Regions from separate parts of the Homo sapiens genome. Here region 2 is linked to region 1. Evidence: promoter capture Hi-C in 16 types of primary human blood cells and fetal thymus (Javierre and others, 2016). All regions are on one chromosome and are shown on one strand. The core of a region is centred on a gene start or on the middle of the fragment in contact, and the rest is flanking DNA. Distances in the headings are between cores, read along the strand shown. Region 1 holds the start of GPX7 (glutathione peroxidase 7). Region 2 overlaps TUT4 (terminal uridylyl transferase 4).

Region 1 (7,582 bases), core at 3,251-5,750:
TGTAGGTGCGGCGGGCAAAGCTCTCAATCTCCTTGTTGCTGTCAGGCTCCTGTTGGCCAAACTGGTTGCAGGGGAAGGCGAGCACGTTAAAGTGGTGGGGGCCCAGGTCTCGCTGCAGCTGCTGCAGGGCTCGGTAGTGCTGGTCTGTGAAGCCGCACTCGCTGGCCACATTCACCACCAGGGACACCTGTATGACAGAAACAAAACAAAACAAAGCCCAGACAAGCCAGTGAAGAGGCATGAACCTGTACATGCCCTGACACATCCACATATGTGACTCCCTCAACAGTTAATACTGCCTCACACATACAAGAACACTGTGTACACATATGTAAATGTGTGTCCAGTGCTCTCACACATACACAAACACATGCACACAGACAGGCACATATGAAATCAAACATTCAGGAGCTTACAGATGTGTGCACACATACATGAACATCTGTGAACATAAGTATACAACATACATAAATAGGTATGCACATGCACCACGATACAAACATGTTAGCAAACACCACACATGCCCACACACACAGCACATCCACAGACTGGGGCACACATACTGGTGAGCACATACTGAGAACTGATAAGAGGGGGTACAAAGGGAGACCTGGGCTCAATTTTTGGCTCAGTCAGCTAGCACTCGCCACTCTGCACTGTGTCAGTCTCCCTTCTAGAATGTGAACCTACTGAGGGCAGGAGCTATGTCCACTTCATCTCTGGGCCTGGCATATGAAAAAGTCTCAGTAAGTTTCAGATGAATGAGTAAGTGTGCACACAAACACAAACGCCTGCATGGGAACATAGACACAGGTTTTCTTGAGAAAAGAACCCTCATAACTCCAGGGCAATCACCTTTTTGTCCCCCTCCTCTCCAGAGAACTAACACCACTTTTGTTGTTGTTGCTGCTGGAGCAATGGCATAATCATAACAGGACATCCCCCCAACCGTTTGCAGTCTCAAACTTCTGAGCTGAAGTGATCCTCCCACCTCAGCCTCTCAAATAGCTAGGACTACAGGCACGTGCCATCACACCTGGCTAATTTTTTAATTTTTACTTTTGGTAGAGACAGTTCTCGCCATGTTGTCCAGGCTGGACTCAAAAACTCTTAGCCTCAGGCAATCCTACCAGCTAAGCCTCTCAAAGTGCTAGGATTACAGTCATGAACCACCATGCCCAGCCTACCACTTTCTTTTATCATTAGACTAATCCTTAAATTTATTAAAGCCTTTAGGCAATAAATACAAAGCTGGCTAATGGAACTTGATTATAAGACTTTGATTAGAATTTTGGCTCAAATGCTATGTTTTTAGCTTCTAGGTATATATTATTAATGGATTTAAAACCCTAGCCGGTGCCTAGGCAGCCTAGCCCTATCCTCCATAATTGACATTTGGGTCAGATAATTCTTTGTTGTCGGGGGGATGTCCTGTTTATTTATTATCAGATGTTTGGCAGCATCCCTGGCCTCTACCCACTAGATGCCCAGTCTTGACAATCAACAATGTCTCCAGACATTGCCAATTGTGCCCTAAAGGGAATAATCACTCCTAGTTGAGAACTACTGGGCTAGATGATTGAACCACTGAGCTGTACCTCCTGTACCCTACCTCCACCAGGTGAGAAAGGACCCATGCCTGGGGCCACTGGCTATTAGAACAACCTCCTCAATTTGAGGTCAGCATACACCATACTGTGCCTGGAATGGTGAGAAACTGGGACTGTTAACTCCCTTCCTCAGTTAGGGTTCTTCCTTTTTTTCCCCCTGCTGGATCCCTGGGCAATGAGAACATTAAAGCTTTTTTTTTTTTTTTTTTTTTTTTAAAGACAGAGTCTTGCTCTGTTACCAAGGCTGGAGTGCAGTGGCGCGATCTTGGCTCACTGCAACCTCCACCTCCCGGGTTCAAGCAATTCTCCTGCCTCAGCCTCCTGAGTAGCTGGGATTACAGGCACACGCCACCATGCCCAGCTAATTTTTGTATTTTTTAAGTACAGACGGAGTTTCACCATGTTGGCCAGGCTAGCCTCGAACTCCTCACCTTGTGATCCACCCGCCTCAGCCTCCTGAAGTGCTGGGATTACAGGCGTGAGCCACTGCGTCCGGCCAAAGCTTGCTTATTTTTAACTCACAACTTGCATGTCTGCCCGCTCTTTTGGAAGGGGGAAAATCTGGCTTCTAGTTCCATCCCTGAAACCAAAAAGCTTGGTCCTTAGAAACCAAAACACAGACAGACACACCCAAGTACACACAGTTAATTTACATATGTACATATACAAGCACAGACACAGACTCAGATTTGTACACAGAAGAAGTAAACCATTCACAAAGGCACACACTACACATAACCCCACACATTCCCAAGTGGTCACCCATTCATCCATACTGGTCTAAATGACTATGGTCCCAATTAGCCTGAGGGCATCAACCATGTCAATCTTGCTCATGACTATGTCATCAGAGCTGGACCCAGTGTCAGACATGTAGTAGGAGCCAGTAAATGTTTGCAGGTGAAGGAATGAGCATATTGCCCAAGCAGCAAGCCTAGCCTGGGTTAACTCAGCACCAATTACAGCTTTTCTGGACTCCCTGTTCCCTGGTTTACTGCTGAACTTGGCAACTAAGAGCATAGACTCTGGAGCTGGACTGTCTGGGTTCAAATTCTTACTGTCTTACTAGCTGTGTGACCTTGTTCTATTTTTGTCTTAGCACTTACTACTACTAGGAATTACCTCGTGCATTTCTCAGTTCCTTGTTTATTGTCTTTCTTCTCCTTACCCCATGTAAGCTCCATTTAGTGGAAATGTATCTGTTTTGTTCACCACTGTATCCCCAGGGCCTGACCTAGTATCTAGTTAGTATACAGTAGGTGTTCAATAATGAACAACGAATTAATAAGTAGCAGAGCTGGTCAGACGCTAAACCTGGGGCTCTCTGGTGAGCTGCCCTAGAGAGAACAGGAGGCCTGAATTGGAGCGGGCCCTGTTCTTGGTTCTTTGCCCAGAGTTCTAAATGAAGTTCCTGCTGGGATCCACCAAACACAGGTGCAAAGCACTCTACAGTTTACTAAGTGCATCCACGCCTTCATCTGATTTGAAACTCACGACACTCTGGGGGACAATCAAGCAGGGATTACTGTCCCCAAGACTCCCAGCATAATCGAAAATTTCAAGGCTTATAGAGTACTGGTCTTCACTAAAGATGGTGTTGCTCCCAGGAGAAAAATGTTGACATCTATTTTTGTGTGGTTCATCCAAAACTGGACGCTGGCCCACCTGTTCATTAGATTTCAACTCCCCAGCCATTTCACACCAGTCCCCAGGTCCATCCTGAAGAGGTCCACTCTGGGAGTTCTTCACTGCACATAATGTGACATGCAGGCCTCTCAATGTAGTGTTCAAGGTCCCGCCTGCTCCCTTGCCAGTCGTTTCAGCCTCATCTTCCACCACTCGTAGCCTCCAGCTTTAGACTCTTTGAAGCACAACAGCTGGAACTCCTGGCCCCGCGCCCCCCCACCCCCTTCTTGCTGTTTGCTTCTTAGTCTTGCTAAAATCCACTCGTATTCAAAGACTCAACCCAGATACCCTTCCTCTCCGAAGTCTTCTCTGAGCTTAGATTCCCTCTTGGTAATGAGGGGGCAATTAGCCTGGATGACTCTTATGTGTGCCCCTGAGCTGCCATCTAAGGACTTGGCCTAGAGAGGACCCCGGATGTGGCGGTGGGGTTCTCTTCCAGGCCCCGTCTTTCTAGTGTAGTGTGACCTTGTGCGAATGCCTGCCCTCTCTGGGCCTTTGTGCCCTCTCCCAGGGATGATCCGTGTGAGGTCTCCGTGCATCTGAAATAACTCTCTCTCTGCCCTGCACATTGATCTCCACAGTGTTCTTCACTGGACTCCGAATCAGCCACTCCCCGTTCCAGATGCAGAAAATGAGGACGGGAGAGGGAAAGGCCGCACGATGCTACGGTTACTTTTTTCACCCGTGAATGGCAAAGGCTGGGCAGTGGTGCCCGGCCTCCCGGCGAAGGTCTGGACCCCGCTGCCCAAAGGTGCCGGTAGCGAAGTGGGCGCCGACTGCGAGCGCTTCGGGTTCCTCCGCGCCAAGGCCGTGCCACGTAGCCGCGGGCCGGGCCGGGCCGGGCGCGGGATGGGGGCGCCGCGCCAGAGGTCACGGCCGAGCGGGGCGGGGGCCGGGGTTTGGCGGCCGCGCGGCTGGAGCGTCCTCGGAGCCACACCGCGCGGGGGACCGGGCTGCGGGGCGTCCCCAGCAGGCCCCGCCAGGGCGAGGCCGGGCCCAGCGGCGCCGCCAGACCCCGCGCACTCACCGATCCGCGGTACTTCTCCAGCGACACCAGTTTGCCCCGGATGTTGACCGCCTTGAAGTCGTAGAAGTCCTGCTCCTGCTGCGCGCAGGCCGCAGCCCACAGGAGCAGCCACGCCGCTGCCACCGTCGCCGCCACCATGGCTTGTTCCGGAGGTGGCGGCGTCGCGAGGGCAAAGACGGGGCGGGGGGATCTAGCGCGGGGGGCGGGAGGAGGCGGCTCTGGCGCCGCTCGGCCCGCAAGGCAGGACGCGCCGCGTTCTCGTTCCCTCCGCAGGCGGTGGATGTCCGGCTCTGGACCTCAGTTTCACCGTCTGTCCTGAGGCAGCGCACCCCTGCCCCGGACCCCAGAGCCAGGGTTTCAGGATTCTGTCCCCTGAGACCGGAGTTCGTTTCAGTGAGGCTCCCTCTTGTCCCAGGAAACAGCGACTTGGCAGGGACAGGGAGGCAAAAATCTGAGAGCTCAGCTTCTCATTAGTGCAGCGGCCTTAGGCTGGCCTGGTCACGCCCCCACTCCGACCTCAGTTTCTCCACATGTTAAGTGGAGCTAGTCGGTATAGGATGGAAGTAATAGAAAAACGGATGCGAAACACTTTAACAGTTGAATGGTGCCTGCAAACTTCAGGTGAATGAATGCATGTTCCCTGAAAGTGATGGCTGGGAGAAGAAGAGAGGACCGTGGGCCTGTTGCAGGTTAGGTTCCTGGAAGCAGATTCTGAGATGGAGATTGGAGTGCAGGATGTTTATGAGGGAGCACCCTTGGGATCAACAGGCGTGGGAAGGATGGGAGGGAACAGGAGTGGCACAGGGGGAAAGTAGTGAGCTCCATGCAGGCCCCAAGACAGTTTTAGCTGACTCGACAGGGACTCTAGAGCTAGAGTAGCCCATCAGATGAGCTAAGATGGCCAGGTCATCCTGCCTTTATCAGTCCTTGGATGTGGGGCCACCTGGCAAGTGGGGCAACAAGGGCCAAGATGGCCCTGTCTGTGGAGAAGCTGACATTAAAGGCTTTGTGCTAACAGCACTCCTAGCAGCTGGTGTCTGTCCTAAGTCCTCAGTGATGGGGGATCTGGGCAGCACATCACAATGTCTCCCCCTGCTCAGAAAACCCCTGTTGAGCCCATGAAATGTCAAACATGGAGCTGGATCCTGTACTCACAGGCTGTGAGTTTTTTCTGGAAACTCACAGACTGGTGTGAGAGAAACCAGGTAAACTGCAGATTTTATGTAATGTGGTAAGGGCTAAGCACTCCTGTGGTCATCAACAAAAACTTCCTGAGCACCTTTTCTATGCCAAGTTTTGCTTTAGGTGATTCTTAGGCAGGGATGAACAGGAGGGCATTATCTCTATCCAGGGAGACACAGGAATTAAATAATTTATAAATAGCTCTAAAATTACTGTTGTGGTGAGTACCACCTAAACTAGCCTGGAGGGCCATGGAGGGCTTTCCAGAAAAAGGGAGATTTGAGCTGAGCTCTGAAGAATGAGGAGAAATTGGTCAGGATGAAGCAACATACAAGTGCAAAGGTCCTGGGGGGAAAGGAACATGGTGCATTGAGTAACAAAGAAGCCTCATTTGGTTGGAACAGAGAGGACAAAGGATGAGAGGGAAAGGTGGAGAGGCAGGAGGGAGTGAGATCACACAGAGCCTAGTAGGCCACAGTAGGGACTGTGGTCTTTAAACCAAGAAATGAAGGTTCTTTTTAGCAGGGAGGTATCACAATGAGTCTTTTGTTGTAGAAAGATCTCTTTCGACAGGGCCCGGTGGCTCACACCTGTAATCCCAATACTTTGGGAAGCCAAGACTGGAGGATTGCTTGAGGCCAGGCGTTCAAGACCAGCCTGGGCAACCTAGCAAGAACTGTCTCTTCAAAAAATTAAAAAATTAGGCCAGGCGCGATGGCTTACGCCTGTAATCCCAGCACTTTGGGAGGCCTAGGCAGGCAGATCGCAAGGTCAGGAGAACGAGACCATCCTGGTTAATGCAGTGAAACCCCATCTCTACTAAAAATACAAAAAATTAGCCAGGTGTGGTGGCACACGCCTGTAGTCCCAGCTACTTGGGAGGCTGAGGCAGGAGAATCACTTGAACCCGGGAGGCAGAGGTTGCAGTGAGCAGAGATTGTGCCACTGTACTCCAGCCTGGGTGATAGAGCGAGACTCCATCTAAAAAAATAAAAATTAAAAATTAGCCTCGTGTGGTAGCATGTGCCTGTGGTTCTAGCTATTTAGGAGGCTGAGGCAGGAGGATTGCTTGAGCCCAGGAGTTCAAGGTTGCAGTGAGCTATGATCATACCACTGCACTCCAACCTGGGTGACACAGACACTATCTCAAAAAAAAAATCCTTCTGGCTGTTCTGTGGAGTTGATAGGAAAGGGCAAGAGCAGATGTGGTCTAGATGTTGGAGTTGACGTAGCTCCAGGGCTACCTCCTAGAGACCCAGAGGCAGTTGCTACCTAGCCTGAGCAGCCAGGCAAGGCCTTCTGGAGGTGTGAGGTGATACTGGAGTTATATCTTGAAAGAGGAATGGGAATTCTCTAGGAGGGTCAGGGCAACAACGTCAGACTGAAAGAGCAGTATCTATGACAGCACAGAGTCAGAGAAGTGCTTGGCTGTTTGAGGTGAGAAGGGGTGTGGGGCAGATGAGATTGGAAGGGTCATCAGGATAGAGAAGGGCCTTGAGTGCCAAGTCACTCTCTAGAGTGTGGCAAGCAAAGGTTTTGAAGCTGGCCACAAGATCATATAGTTACTAGGACTCGAACCCAGGCCTTCAGGTGTAGACCATGGGATTTTTCTGCACCACCAAGGTGGCCTCACTCTTCAGGAGAAGGCAATATTATCAGGAGAGGTGGAGAGCAGAGGAAACGGCGCTCCAGGCAAGGGCCAAGGCATACATAAGGTGCCCCTGCCCATCCTGCTCCTTCTTCCCCATCTCTTTTGGGAGCCTTAAGCCTGTGATGGGTCCCACAGCTATTAAATGGTCTCTTCTCTCTCTGCCTTCTGGAACCATTGGGCTCTCTTCCTGCCACCTGTCCCTTTCACTCAGCCCCTTCTTGAGTGTCCCAGTAACCAGGAGTTCTCAAATTCTACTTCATATAACTTGGAGTGTTGCAAGTTTGGCCAAGCTATTTCCTGTTAAAATCCAGATAGATGAGCCGGGCGAGGTGGCTCACATGTTTATACAAAATTAGCCGAGCGTGGTGGTGCATGCCTGTAATTCCAGCTACTCAGGAGGCTGAGGCAGGAGAATCACTTGAACCC
Region 2 (7,582 bases), core at 2,912-5,411, 150 kb after region 1:
GTTTGGTAGAATTCATCAGTGTACCCATCTAGGCCTAGTGCTTTCTTTTTTGGATGGTTATTAATTATTGATTCAGTTTATTTAATAGATATAGGCCCATTCAGATTTTCTGTTTCTTCTTGTGTGAGTTTTGGCATATTGTGTCTTTTTTTTTTTTTTGAGATGGAATCTCACTCTGTTGCCCAGGCTGGAGTACAGTGGCGTGATCTCGGCTCACTGCAATCTCCGCCTCCTGGGTTCAAGCAATTCTCCTTCCTCAGCCTCTGGAGTACCTGGGATTACAGGTGCCCGCCACCATACCCGGCTCATTTTTGTATTTTTAGTAGAGACAGCGTTTCACCAATGTTGGCCAGGCTGGTCTTGAACTCCTGACCTCAGGTGATCCGCCCGCCTTGGCCTCCCAAAGTGCTGGGATTACAGGCGTGAGCCACCGCCCCTGGCTGGTATATTGTGTCTTTTAAGGAATTAGTTCATTTCATCTAGGTTATCAAAATTGTAGTTCATAGTGTTATTATTCTTTTAATGTCCATGAGATATGTATTGATATCCCCTCTTTCATTTCTGTTGTTAGTAATTTATATACCTTCTCTTCTTAATTAGCCTGGCTAGGAGTGATTTGTTTTTTAACAAATTTGTTCACTGGATGATATTTAAAATTTACCATAAATTAATTAGGCCTGCCAAGGCCAGCATTACTCTCTGTATTCTTATTCTTATTCTTATTTTTTTTTTTTTTGAGACAGAGTCTCGCTCTGTCACCCAGGCTGGAGTGCAGTGGCGCAATCTCGGCTCACTGCAAGCTCCACATCCCAGGTTCACGCCATTCTCCTGCCTCAGCCTCCCGAGTAGCTGGGACTAAAGGCGCCCACCACCATGTCAGGCTTATTTTTTTGTATTTTTAGTAGAGATGGGGTTTCACCGTGTTAGCCAGGATGGTCTCGATCTCCTGACCTTGTGACCCGCCCACCTGGGCCTCCCAGAGTGCTGGGATTACAGGCGTGTGCCACCGCGCCCAGCCTACTCTCTGTATTATTATAATCGTTGTTTAGGCTTTAAATAGGGATCATATGTACTAATTCTCCAGTAATATCATTTGCCACTTTGCCGGAATACTATGATTAACAAAAATGGACCACAAATTTGATTTTCTTGGTGGTTTGTCTGTATTCTCTCCTTACCCATGGATTAGGAGTCACTGAGGTAGCATGAAGTAATAGAAATACCAAGGCATGGTATTTAGAGCCAGAAATAACTAGTCAGAATCCTAATTCTAACATTTTGGCCTTAACAATCTGCATAAGTCTGAGTTTCATCATCATTAAAAATGTAATAATGATAATATTTCAGTGTTGATATGAGGAACAGAAACATTTAATGCTTTTGAATGTAGTAGGTGCTAAAGTAGACATTCATAAACAGTGCTTGCTTTTATTATTATTTTTACTATTATGATTTATGCTCATTAGCAGCATTATTGCTATTATTATTGGAAAAATGTAGGTAGGACTACCATATTCAACTTTAAAAACTCTTTCATTATCTGTTTAACAGACATCTGCTTAATATTGATCAAACAAGAGACAGTTCATGGAATGTTTCCTATCATAATGAGGTTTGATTTCGGGGGACTTTGTGATATATATAGACTGATGATACATGGAATTTTGTTTCTGGCCTTTTTTAATGGTTGTCATATGGGACCTCATTGTCCATTGCTCTGGCATCATTTAAGTATTGACCATTGGCATCAATTATCTTTTAAGGGTAAGGATATGTTTAAAGAAGCTAATGATGTCTGCCTCCATTTGTAATTAAGCTTTAACTTTATATGGCTGGGTATTACTAAGGCACAGCTAAGAGCATTTTTTTGATGGTCAGCAGTACTAAGTTCTTTACGTCAAAAAGAGCTGTCCTAGGCAGAAGATTTTTGCTCTACCCTAGCAAATCATAATAAGTAAAAGCAAATTTTCACATAAAAATTAATTCCAAAAAAGATTTGGGAGTGTTCACACATGATTTTATGAAAAATTTTTTTAACCCATATCAGCTTAAAATTTGCAACTTAATGAATGAATCTTGAGGACATTATGCTAAGTGAAGTAATCCAGTCACAGAAAGACAAATACTATTTGATTCTACTTATATGAAGTACCTAGAGTAGTCAAATTCATAGGGACAGAAAGTAGAGTGGTGGTTGCCAGGGAATCTCAAGGAGGGAGAAATGGGAAGTAATAGTTTCATAAATACAGAGTTTTAGTTTTACCAGATGATAAGATTTTTGTGAATGGATGGTGGTGATGGTAGCGTGACAGTATGACTATACTTAGGCCGCAGGACTGTATGCTTATGATGGTAAATTTTATATTTTGTGTATCTTACCACAACTAAAAAATTACAAGTTAGGCCAGTCGCAGTGGTTTACACCTGTAATCCCAGCACTTTGGGCGGCCGAGGGGGGTAGATTACTTGAGGTCAGGAGTTTGAGACCAGCCTGGCCAATATGGCAAAACCTCATCTCTACTAAAAAATACAAAAATTAGCCAGGCATGGTGGCATATGCCTGTAATCCCAGCTACTTGGGAGGCTGAGGCACAAGAATGGCTTGAACTGGCGAGGTGGAGGTTGCAGTGAGCTGAGATTGTGCCACTGCACTCCAGCCTGGGTGACAGAGCGAGACTCTGTCTAAACAGAAAAATGCAATGTAAATATAACAGTACATATTAGAATATCACAATAAGATAAGAATTTTGGAAATGTTTAGGGTCATTCTTTACATAAATATGATTGACTTATTTGGTGATCCTTATAATATGATTGACTTGTTTAGAGGGAGGACTGAGTGCTAAGTTGAAGATGATTCGTGTTGAATGAGAGAGAACAGAGAGACAGCAGGGAGAGAGAGTGTGTGTGTGTGTGTCTGTGTGTGTGTGTGTGTAAAAGTGTATAGCATTAGTGCTTCTGGGGGCTGAAACAGAGTGGAGAGAATTAAACACAGTGAAACATGAGAATTCAAAAGAATAGGCAAAATGAGTGATGATTAACGTTACAAGGCCCACAGACCTACTCCACTGTGTTATCAGCCAACGTAGTTGGGCTGGATCATGGATATTACTGAGAAGTATGAAATCTCTTAAAAACAATCATGATCTAAAGAGTTGGATTGTTGTTACTCAGAAGTATGAATTATCTCAAAACAGGGTTCTAAAGAGGTAGTTTATTTCAATATCTAGCAAATAAATCTGTGTTTACAAAACATGAAATACCTATAATAGCGTCTGAATCTTTAAGGATAAAATATTACATGTCAGCCCCTTAATATCTTCACTTCTTTCTTGAGGTCAGAAATCCTATGTCTTTTGTTTCAGATATTAATAGCTGCAATTGCCTCTTTTTTTTTTTTTTTTTTTTTTTTTGAGACAGAATCTCGCTTAGTCACCCAGTCTGGAGTGTAGTGGCACAATCTCAGCTCATTGCAACCTCAATCTCCTGAGTTCAAGCGATTCTCCTGCCTCCGCCTCCCAAGTAGCTGGGACTACCAGCACGAACCACCACGCCCAGCCAATTTTTTGTATTTTTATTAGAGACGGGGTTTTGCCATGTTGGCCAGGCTGGTCTTGAACTCCTGACCTCAGGTGATCCGCCTGCCTCGGCCTCCCAAAGTGCTGGGATTACAGGCATGAGCCACTGCGCCCGGCCTCAGTCTTTCACTTTTGTTTTATGAAATGTCGGAATATGTGCTAGATGACTTTTAGTAAACTGTATCTGTTTAAGTAATATGTAAATGTTAAAAAGCAACTTATTAGCCCTAGTCCCTGGAAGCTTGATTTCTGTGTAACATACTTACATATTAAATATAGTCATTCAACAAACATATATTAAGTGTTCTCTATGTGGCTTTGGTCTAGTAGGGTTCTGGGTTTCAGAGATAAGCCATAGTCCTTACCCACAAAGAACTTAAATCTGAGGATAAAATTGGAGGGGCCAGACATGTAGTTAATTTTATAAATCACTGTCACATCAAAAATGGAAATGGCCATTGGGCCCAGGCCCACCTTAACTAGTGGATTTAAATGGTATTGTGGTTTAACTGTATTCTGGGACCCATTAGTCACGGTAGAGGGTAAAGAGAAGGTGGTGTGGTATGTTTTCTCCATTTATAAACTACTGACTGACTAATTTATATAGTCTTTCCTCATTTTCACTGGGAAAAGTGAGCACTTAGGGAGATGATTGTCTTGCCCAGAACCACTATTCCTCAGGATAGAGGCTAGAAATTAGGTCTCCTGACTGAATCTGTTGCACCTTCCTACTTTATTGCATCTCTTAAGCCTCCTTTAGAATAAAAGTATCAATTACTTGTGGAAGTCAGTTACACAGACATCTTACGGGATACTTTTCTTGTAAAAATAGCGTTTTTTTCTCCTTTTTTCTTCTCCTTAGGACAGCGGATTATTATTCATAATAAAGTTTATAGTCTTTATCAAAATGTAAGGGAAAGCTTCCTAATTTTCCTTTTTTTTTTTTGTTTTTTTGTTTTTTTGTTTTTTTTTGGTGAGATGGAGTCTCGCCCTGTCGCCCAGGCTGGAGTGCAGTGGCACGATCTCGGCTGACTGCAACCTCTGCTTTCCAGGTTCAAGCATTTCTCCTGCCTCAGCCTCCCGAGTAGATGGGATTACAGGTGCACGCCACCACGCCCAGCTAATTTTTTGTATCTTTAGTAGACACTGGGTTTCACCATGTTGGCCAGGCTGGTCTCAAACTCCTGACCTCATGATCCACCATTCTCGGCCTCCCAAAGTGCTGGGATTACAGGCGTGAACCACCGTGCCTGGCCCTAATTTTCCATTTTTACAAAATGATAGTCCAATTGCTTTTTAGCCTTATCTGATATAGATAAATGATTAAAGGTACTAGGTCCCAAAACAGTTCTGTTGCCTTCCTTTGGGTGCACAATCAGTGGGTATTATCTATTTTGTATTTTTATATCTGTGATCCTTTGATGAAACTGCTGTTTCATCATGACTGCTGTTTCTTTTTTAAGTTTTGCTTCATTATTCTTGGACTGGATATGTTTTGATAGGTCAAGTAGATAACATCAAATGTATCATTTGGAGTTTAATGCTCTTAAAAGACATCCTTTTCCAGCTTTGGTCTTTCAGATACGTTTTATTCATTAACTTCTTGGCATCAAATTATACCATCATCCTGACATGTTCTTTTTGGAAGAAGTATTTTAGTATGTCTTATAGGTAAATTCTAAAATGGTATTAGAGTATTTGGACCTTTGGGTTGGATCACTTGAAATCTAATAATACAATTAATTTTTTTATGCAGATCTTTGATGGAAAACAGATTCCACAGAGAATGGTTGATGGATGGAATGCTTTCTTCTTTGATAAAACAGAAGAACTGGTAATTTTAAAATAGTCTTTATGTTCTAGAATGCTCACTGATATATGTTAGCATCTGTATAATTTAATAATTTTACTTAAATTTGCTGTCCATGTTTTGGATAGTACTGTATAGACATTGTTCTTTTCTTTTTTTTTTTATATGTAGAAAAAGCGTTTACCTTCACTTGGAAAGAACACAGAATCATTAGGGGAGCTTTGGCTGGGACTGCTTCGTTTCTATACTGAAGAGTTTGATTTCAAGGAATATGTAATTAGCATTCGGCAGAAAAAGCTGTTGACAACTTTTGAGAAGCAGTGGACTTCCAAGTGCATTGCAATTGAAGGTAACATTTAAGCTGATATTAATTCAGGAGCAACCAAAATTTGGTCAACGAAATTGAGGGGAAAACTGAAATACATTAGGATTTGGAAGATTCTTCCTCTTTTATCAGTTTTCCTCCTTTAATGTGTAATTTTAGAGGAAGAGTTTGCTGATTTGTATAGTCTGAGTACATATAAGTATTAGACTTCAGCGGTGACTTCTAAGTATATTTTTATGGTACAGTGAATGTAATTCTTAATCATTGATATATTTCTTTTGTAGACCCTTTTGACTTGAATCATAACCTTGGTGCTGGAGTTTCCAGAAAAAGTAAGTTTTAAATATAGAGATTCTCTGATTTTAAAACTCTGACACATTAATGTCTGCATCTTTATTGTTTTCTTCTTTCTTTAATAGTGACCAATTTCATCATGAAAGCATTTATCAATGGAAGGAAACTTTTTGGTACCCCTTTTTATCCACTCATTGGCAGAGAAGCTGTAAGTTTACATTATATGAATTGTGAATCTTTTCTTTTTTTAAATAGAACAAGAAACTTAATTGTGTTTCCAAACTGATGTTAGATATAGGGAAAGAGATGGTCATAGCTTTGTATATTTTTTCTTATTGCATTTATCATAGTCCATAGTGAGATATATATTTTCAAAATTTTATTTGTTTAAACTATTTGTTAAATTCTGTCTTCTCCACTAGACTATAAGCCCCACGAAGACAGGATTCATGTCTGTAAGGTTCACCTATTTCCAGTACATACATAGTGTCTGGCGCATTGGATGTACCAAATAAGGATTTGTTGAGTGAATGAGAATAGTCAGTCAAGACTCTGGATTGTTGAATTTTAGGTGCTGCTCATTGTCCCTCTTTTATCTTCAGAAATCTCGATGAAAATATACACATAGAAGACAAAACCGAAGAAATATTTTATTATTTGTTGGGGCTTCTCTAATTTTTGTATAGCTTTAGTAAGCTGAATTAGATGGCATGGAACCGAGAAGTTTCCTTCTACCTGAATTGGGTGGGAGAGTGTCACACATTCCTCTTGGCCTCACTCTGGTTTTTGCCTGCTTTCTTATGGTTAGGGAGACTGCAGGAGGTTTTAGCTTCAGAGCAGGAGACTTAGAAGAAATCTCAAGAAAGAGAACAAATGTATTAGGGTTCTCTTAGAGGGACAGAGCTAATAGGATATATATAATCCTATTATATATATACACAGACACACACACACATATATATATACACATATATACATATATATACACACATACATGTATATACATATATATACACACATATACATGTATATACATGTATATACACATACATGTATATACATATATATACACATACATGTATATACATATATATATACACACATATATGAGTTTATTAAGTATTAATTTACATGATCACAAGGTCCCATAATAGAGTGTCTGCAGCTGAGGGGCAAGGAGAGCCAGTCCAAGTCCCAAAATTGAAGAACTTGGAGTCCGACATTTGAGGGCTGGAAGCATTCAGCACAGGAGAAAGATGTAGGCTGAGAGGCTAGTCCTGTCTTGCCTTTTCACATTTTTCTGCTTGCCTTATGTTCACTGGAAGATGATTAAATTATGCACACTAGATTAAGTGCAGATGTGCCTTCCCCAGCCCACTGACTCAAATGTTAATCTCTTTTGGCAAAACCCAACAGACACACCCAGGATTAATAGTTTGTGTGCTTCAGTCCAATGAAATTGACATTCAGTATTAACCATCACAACAAACGTGCATTTACATTGCATAGTGAATGTCCTTGAACTTGTTCAGTCCAGTTTCAGGTGTCTTATTTCTTGGGGGTAGAATAAGAAAA

What was found. The method cuts DNA at HindIII sites, captures the fragments that hold promoters and counts their contacts. A CHiCAGO score of 5 or more calls a contact.
Region 2: a contact is called between a fragment that was not itself captured here and the fragment with the promoter of GPX7 in region 1, in 7 of 17 cell types (naive CD4 T cells, total B cells, naive B cells and 4 more). The highest score is 7.6, in naive CD4 T cells.

Annotation. Positions count from the first base shown.
Region 1 is chr1:52,599,289-52,606,870 of GRCh38, reverse strand. GPX7 (glutathione peroxidase 7) reads right to left here and starts at 4,500. Exons shown (of 3, transcript NM_015696.5): 1 at 4,324-4,500; 2 at 1-187. The coding sequence starts at 4,461. The HindIII fragment of the contact is 11,376 bases long and covers 2,207-7,582 here.
Region 2 is chr1:52,444,420-52,452,001 of GRCh38, reverse strand. TUT4 (terminal uridylyl transferase 4) reads left to right here. Exons shown (of 30, transcript NM_001009881.3): 21 at 5,335-5,412; 22 at 5,560-5,737; 23 at 5,998-6,045; 24 at 6,133-6,215. Among named protein-coding and RNA genes, the nearest start is that of PRPF38A, 44 kb to the right of the region's middle. The HindIII fragment of the contact is 679 bases long and covers 3,822-4,500 here.